2 separate regions of the Homo sapiens genome follow, and region 2 is linked to region 1. Evidence: promoter capture Hi-C in human tissues and cell types (Jung and others, 2019). All regions are on one chromosome and are shown on one strand. The core of a region is centred on a gene start or on the middle of the fragment in contact, and the rest is flanking DNA. Distances in the headings are between cores, read along the strand shown. Region 1 holds the start of LMAN2 (lectin, mannose binding 2). Region 2 overlaps ZNF346 (zinc finger protein 346).

The links. Contacts are between HindIII fragments. The study calls those that stand out against the background at their distance.
Region 2: a contact is called between a fragment that was not itself captured here and the fragment with the promoter of LMAN2 in region 1, in 4 of the 25 tissues and cell types used here (IMR-90 fibroblasts, dorsolateral prefrontal cortex, lymphoblastoid cells and 1 more).

The regions. Positions count from the first base shown.
Region 1 is chr5:177,349,511-177,353,275 of GRCh38, reverse strand. LMAN2 (lectin, mannose binding 2) reads left to right here and starts at 1,608. Exons shown (of 8, transcript NM_006816.3): 1 at 1,608-1,824; 2 at 1,985-2,103. The coding sequence starts at 1,629. RefSeq lists enhancers at 1,418-1,467, 1,478-1,667 and a silencer at 1,309-1,523. The HindIII fragment of the contact is 12,408 bases long and covers 1-3,765 here.
Region 2 is chr5:177,037,731-177,041,495 of GRCh38, reverse strand. It overlaps ZNF346 (zinc finger protein 346), which reads right to left. Exons shown (of 7, transcript NM_012279.4): 2 at 267-370. Among named protein-coding and RNA genes, the nearest start is that of ZNF346, 17 kb to the right of the region's middle. RefSeq lists a silencer at 2,757-2,806. The HindIII fragment of the contact is 3,815 bases long and covers 1-3,573 here.

The DNA of each region.
Region 1 (3,765 bases), core at 359-2,858:
TTTTGCTGCTGCTTCTTTTTTTTTTTTTTTGGGTAAAAAAACGGAAGTCTGGATTTCTTTTCTTCTTCTTCTTCTTCTTTTTTTTTTTTTTTGTAGAGACAGAGTCTTGCTCTGTCGCCCCGGCTGGAATGCAATGGCGTGATCTCTGCTCACTGCAACCTCTGCCTCCTGGGTTCAAGCAATTCTCCTGCCTCAGCCTCCCGAGTAGCTGGGACTACAGGTGTCCGCCACCACGCCGTTAATTTCTTTTGTATTTTAGTAGAGACGGGGTTTCACCGTGTTGCCCAGGCTGGTCTGAAACTCCTGAGCTCAGGTAATCTGCTCGCCTCTGCCTCCCAAAGTGCTAGGATTACAGGCCTCAGCCACTGAGCTCAGCCGGAAGTCTGGATTTCTGATGTGAATGTACATATTCCGACTTTGTGTGTGTGTGTGTGTGTGTGTGTGTGTGTGTGTGTGTGTGTGACAGAGTCTCGCTCTGTCGCCCAGGCTGGAGTGCAGTGACGCGATTTCGGCTCACTGCAAGCTCTGCCTCCTGGGTTCAAGCCATTCTCCTGGCTCAGCCTCCCGAGTAGCTGGGACTACAGACACCTGCCACCACGCCCGGCTAATTTTTTGTATTTTTTAGTAGAGACGGGGTTTCACCGTGCTAGCCAGGATGGTCTCGATCTCCCGATCTCGTGATCCGCCGGCCTCAGCCTCCCAAAGTGCTGGGATTACAGGCGTGAGCCACCACGCCCAGCCTCTATATTCTGACTTTAAAATACTGGTAGTTAAGCCATTTATTAGAATATTGGCAGGTAAAACAGAGCTCTATTCAGCTGCAGGCCACCAGTTTTCGACCTCTGATTCACAGCTTTCCTGGGCCTTCCATGGACGTTACTTGCTGTACCAGGCACTGCGCTCTTTTGCATAGGGATGAGTTCCAGTCATCACTGGGGTCCCAGGCCAGGATCTGTGTCTGTTCCTCTTGCTTCAACCCGACTAGGCCTGAGGAGTTGAGGGTAGTGGAGGCCCTCAAATAATTGGGAATTCTGAGTCTCCAAAGGCGCGAAGCTGGGGCGCCTGACGGCAGGCACGGCTTAAAGGCTTGCCCAGGGCCACCCGGGGAGGACAAGGGTTGGAATGCAGGACTCCGCCTTCAATTCAGAGCTCCTTTCTCCAGGACTAGAAAAGGTTATTCCAGAGACGGGACTTGCGGCCAGAAGCCCAAGACGTCCTAGTCTTCGCGAATCCGCCCCATTAGAGCGACCGACAAAAACTACAAATTCCAGCATGCCCCGAGTCGCGGACGGCCCTCGCGCTCCCGCCGGCTCCAACCATCCCTCTGCTCCTCATTGGCTCGCAAGCCTAACGTGCTGTTCCGTGACTGGTTACAGCTCTTGTCGCTCGAAAGAACCCATTGCTGGGGCTGGCCGGCGTGTGCCTTGGAGCCTCTAAGGAGATGAAACTGCACTCAACCAGGATGAGAGGCTGCCCGGCCAATGCAGCTGCCGCCCCGTCTGCTGCGGAGGCTTTGCTTTTTGACTCCCTGGCGACAGTAAAGTTGAAGAGCTTCCGGCCGGAGGCCAATAGATGGGACCCCCGGAAGGCGGAAGTTCTAGGGCGGAAGTGGCCGAGAGGAGAGGAGAATGGCGGCGGAAGGCTGGATTTGGCGTTGGGGCTGGGGCCGGCGGTGCCTGGGAAGGCCTGGGCTTCTCGGCCCCGGCCCTGGCCCCACTACACCTCTCTTTCTTCTTTTGTTGTTGGGGTCTGTGACTGCGGATATAACTGACGGCAACAGTGAACATCTCAAGCGGGAGCATTCGCTCATTAAGCCCTACCAAGGTGAAGCCCTTGGGGCGGGAATGAGTGAAGAGTGAGGGCGAGGCTGAACAGGGCTAGGGGAAGGCGTGCCCTTTCTCCTGAGCAGAGCATCTCTGTGGGTTTCCTGCCTCTGGTGAGGCCAGTCCTGGCGTGGCCTCTTAGCACCTGTCTCTTCCCACAGGGGTCGGTTCCAGCTCTATGCCCCTCTGGGACTTCCAGGGCAGCACTATGCTCACGAGCCAGTACGTACGTCTGACCCCTGACGAGCGCAGCAAAGAGGGCTCTATCTGGAACCACCAGGTGAGTGGTTCTCAAGAGGATAGGCGTACTGTGCGGTTGGCTGCTAGTCCCTGCCTCCCGAGCAGCTGAGACCCCAGCTTCGTTTATAGGTTTGCACCTCCGTCCCTGGCCTTTTCCTCATCTCGGTCACACCCACCAATAATAAGAGGCGATGGGTATTGGGTACTTACTATGTGTCAGGAGCTGCGCTTGACACTTTACATCCTCCTCACTTTAAAAGCCATGCGAGATGAGTAATGTTATCTCCATTTTACCCACTGAGAAGCTAAGACTCAGGTTTGAAAGGGCCTTACCCAAAGTTACATAGCCAGAAAGTAGTGGAACTGTCAGGCTGTCTGCCTTGAACCCCCTCAGTAATGGGAAGAACCGAGCGAACTGGATCTTTATTGGGTGTTTTGCTGTGTATTAGGCACTGACCTTGCCATGCCTTATTGCATTTAATTTTCAAACAAGCTGTTTGAAATAGATGGCTTTCATGACTATACAAAGATAACCCAGCTAGCAAATGTCATAAACAGTATTTAAACTCTGATTTGTCTGATCTCTAAGCCCAGCAGTTCACTCGATGTACTTGACTCTTTTCACCTGGACAGTGGAGGAACCCCTTAGAACCCTTTTTGCAATGCTTGGTTGAGGGTCTTGTCATCAGTAGTGTGGAGGGACTGGACCTGTGGGCAGTTCTAGTGTCTGTGACCTTTGCCTCAGAGTATGTAGTATGTAGTATGTGAGCAGTGGCCAATGACAGCTGCTACACAGAATCCACACTGAGGCAGTCAAGGTGAGGAAAAAGGGGAAAGAAGAATAATTTGGGGCTGGGTTACAGCTTGGAGCGGGACCTGCTCCTGCCCCAGCTTGCCTAATCTCAGCCCTTCCCATGGCTTAAGCTGTTGGCCAGTGTTCTAGTTTTCTCCATCACCCTGCTCTCTGATCCCTGCTGGTTGACTTTCTTGTTTAGTTCTGGGAACCCACACTGTCCTTGTGTTGCCTGGTCTGCCCGTCCCCTCTGCTCCTCCTCTCCTTCCTGCCCCGAGCCTCCACACTGCTGTTAGTGGCATCTGCGGATACTTTCTTCAGCTTTCAGTCTGATCCTCAGAGCGTGGAGTCCCCTGTGAAGGGGTAAGCATGCATTATGTCTGCACAATCTGGCCCCTTGTGCATCTCCAGTCATTCTCTGTGTTAATTTTGTTCCAGCCCCCCCTGGCTGCCTTCTTGCCTCAGGACCTTTGCACCTGTTGTTCCCTCTGTCTGGGACACTGCCTCCTGGCTCCTCATGCCTGCTTGGTTCCTTCTCATCTGTTAAGTCTCAATTCAAGTGCCACCCACGCAGACATTTCTTCATTAACCACCCTATCTCCCCCGAGTCACATTCTGTCACATTCTGTCTTAGGGCTTTCAGATATTTTAAAGAAATGATAATTCAGCCTTATATTTTTCATGGAAATGAGTTCAGTATAGCATTATTATTATTTTTTGAAAGCAAGGTGCAAACAGTGCTGGAACTGTAGAAATCAGGAGTAGCCACAAGTAATAGACGCATCTAAGACAGTGGCTTACATTTTGGTTGTAGATAGCTGATGGTTGGCATCATCAGTGGCTCGAGGATGTCACAGGACTGAGAGGCTTCTGCACTTGCCTTCATCGAATTTTCAGTCTGGAGTACAA
Region 2 (3,765 bases), core at 417-2,916, 310 kb after region 1:
TTAAAGTCAGATCTATTTAAAGCCAAAGCTCATACTTTATGCTATGCCAAGCTGCAAGGGAAGATACACATATAATGATCCTGATTTGGATGGGGGAGATGAGACTCAAGGAGATTAAGTCAATCTTCAAGTCACAAGCCAACATGCATGGAGGCAACATCTGGGTGGCTAAGCAGCAATTACACTTCACCATGCAAGCCAGAGAGAATTAGTGGTTTGGCACCAGGTCTGAAAAGAAACGCAGTTCTAAAAGTATGATGGCATACCTGGTAATGTGCCAGCTTCTGGGACTCAGAAATAAGCAAGGCGCAGCAAACCTTACACTGGGTGTTGGTGAAGAGACATTGGTTCTTCTGGATCATGTGCTCCACTATAGAGGGGAAAACAAGAAATCATTGAGTTGACAAACACTACCTCAACAGCACTGCCTTTGAACCCTGCCTCAAACACAGGCACTGAATGATGGGATGCCATACTAGGACACTGGCAGACCTCAGCCAGCCTTTCCTACTGCCACCGTGACTCATGCTGTGTTCTCACACCACCTACACTATTACTTATTTTATAATTTTATGTATGCCAACTTTCTTTACTTAGGAACTTCTTTTAAAAAGGAATCTTTAGATCATAAACTTAAGCAGATACCAATAAAAATAAATATGATAAAAATGAGGCTTGGAGCATTCCCCAGGAAGAAGAGAACAGCAACTGTGCTGAGAGGTTTTAAGATATGGTAGCACCCAACTGAAACTTCTTCCCAGATAGAATCAGGAGGACTGAAAGACTCGAAAAAGGAATACTTTTCTCATTGTTCTTGATCTGACTTTGAAACATTTAAAATCACATAACAGGGTGGGGCGTGGTGGCTCACGCCTGTAATCCTAGCACTTTGGGAGGCCGAGGTGGGCAGATCACCTGAGATCAGGAGTTCGAGACCAGCCTGGCCAACATGGTGAAACCCTGTCTCTACTAAAAATACAAAAATTAGCCAGGTGTGGTGGCAGGCACCTATAATCCCAGCTACTCGGGAGGCTGAGGCAGGAGAATTGTTTGAACCCAGGAGGCAGAGGTTGTAGTGAGCTGAGGTTGTGCCACTAACTCCAACTTGGGTGACAGAGCTAGACTCTGTCTCTAAATAAATAAATAAAATAAAATCACATAACGTATTATATAAGTGCCACACTATATGAAACATGGTATTAACCTGTGCTTAAATTATTGTGCCTGGAGAACAGTCTTACCTTTTTGAGAAGAGAAGAGGAGGTAAAATCTCTCCCAAGGCATAAGTTCATTTTTGTTTGTTTTTTTTTTTTTTGAGAGGGAGTCTCGCTCTGTCACCCAGGCTGGAGTGCAGTGGCATGATGTCGGCTCACTGCAAGCTCCGCCTCCCAAGTTCACACCATTCTCCTGCCTCAGCCTCCCGAGTAGTTGGGATTACAGGCACCCACCACCACGCCCAACTAATTTTTTTGTATTTTTAGTAGAGACGGGGTTTCATCGTGTTAGCCAGGATGGTCTCGATCTCCTGACCTCGTGATCCACCCACCTTGGCCTTCCAAAGTGCTGGGATTACAGGCGTGAGCCACCGCGCCCGGCCAAGGCATGAGTTCTATCATGGCGCTGGCAATGTGAGGCAGAGGCAGAGGCAGAGTCTAAAACTGGGAGAGGAGGGCAGGCCCACATTTTTAATCTCCTGGTCTCAGCCAAAAAGTGGTCAAGGCTAGGCACAGTGGCTCACACCTGTAATCCCAGCATTTTGGGAGGCTGAGGTGGGAGGATGGGTTGAGCCCAGGAGTTTGAGACCAGCCTGGGCAAGATGGTGAGACTCTGTCTCTACATAGAAACAAACACACCAACAAACCAAAAACTAGCCGGGGGTGGTGGCACATGCCTGTGGTTCCAGCTTCATGGGAGGCTAAGGCTGAGACAGAGACAGAAGGATTGCTTGAGCTCAGGAGGTCAAGGCTATGGCAAGCCATGTTAGTGCCACTGTACTCCAGCCTGGATAACAGAGCAAGCCCCTGTCTTAAAAAAAAAAAAGTCGATGCCCTGGAAGAGGTTCTTGGTGGGGAGCTTTTAAGATGTCTCTCCTTAATCCACAAAATCTAAAGCTTACCTATGTCAGCCCTTTTAGGCAGAAGGGCTGTATTTCTGCCCCTAATGATCTCTTTTTATTTCTGCATTTTTCTTTTAAATGGTAAATTTTTGTGAAAGACCTTGCCTGTCTTAGCTATGCTCTGAAAAACCAAGAGAAATGACTCTATAAACAAAATTGGCCCAGAACTTTTAAAAGAGGGTCAGAGGTGGCCAGGCACGATTGGTAATGCCTGTAATCTTAGCACTTTGGGAGGCCAAGGTGGGTGGATCATCTGAGGTCAGGAGTTTGAGACCAGCCTGGCCAACATGGTAAAACCCCATCTCTACTAAAAATACAAAACTAGCCGGGTGTGGTGAAGCATGCCTGTAATCCCTGCTACTTGGGAGACAGAGGCAGGACAATCACTTGAACCTGGGAGGCAGAGGTTGCAGTGAGCCGAGATTGTGCCATTGCACTCCAGCCTGAGCAACAGCAAAACTCGGACACACACACACACACACACACACACACACACACACACAAGAAGAAGAAGAAAAAAGAAGAAAAAAAAGAGGGTCAGAGGCTTCTCACAATAAGAAACCCACATGGGGAAGGTAATACCCAGGGGTCAGAGTTCAGTCATCACTTCCTCACCTGGAGATTGTGGATTTTGTTTTGTTCAAGAGATGAGGTTTCAAGCATATTCAGAATCAGACTCCCAAACCCACAGCAAGGGCAGGTAAGCACCTGCTAAATAAATGTACCTCTCTGCTGGAATGCACTCTCTGGCCTTAGAGAGTACATTCACATAGTCCACACAAATATATTTATAATACGTGCTTTGTGTCAACACTGCACTTAGTGCTGGGGGCCATACCAACAAAGAAGATGGGGTATAAAGTAAAAAATAAGCAAGACAATGACAGAGAATTAGAAATGCTATGAAAACAAGCAGAGTACGGGGTAGAGAATGACGGGGCAGGAGAGTTAGTAAAGACCATCACAGGGCCGGTTGTGGTGGCTCACACCTATAATCCCAGAAACTCAACAGGCTGAGGCAAGAGGATTGCTTCAGCCCAGAAGTTTCAGACTGTCCTGGGCAACACAGGGAGAGCCACATCTCTACAAAAATTAAAAAACACACACACACAAAAAAAAAAAACGTAGTTGGGCATGGTGGCGCATGCCTGTAGTCTTAGCTATTCAGGAGGCTGAGGTGGGAGAATCCCTTGAGCCTAGAAGTTTGAAGCTTCAGTGAGCCGTGAATGTGCCACTGCACTCCAGCCTAGGCAACAGAGAAAGACTTTGACTCTGAAAATTTAAAAAAAAAAAAAAAAATCATCATGGGGAAGTGTCAGCCACAAGGCTTACAGGAAAAGAGTGTTCCAACCTGAAACAGTATTAAGTCTGTGAGGCAGGGATGAGTTTGGCATATTCCATGTTCAAAGAATGGAGAGAAGCCCACTATGCCTGGAATATGGTGAATGAGAGAAGAATGGTAGGAAATTAAGTTGGAGAGACAGCATGAGGCCTAGTAGATGATGTTGAATGAATATAAGGCTCCATAAGCCACAGTATGAACTACGGATTTTATTGTTAGTGTAATGAGAGGTGACAAGATCTGGTTTGCCCTTGAAAAGATTACTCTGACAGTTGTTGTCAACAGACTGTATGGGGACAAGAATGGA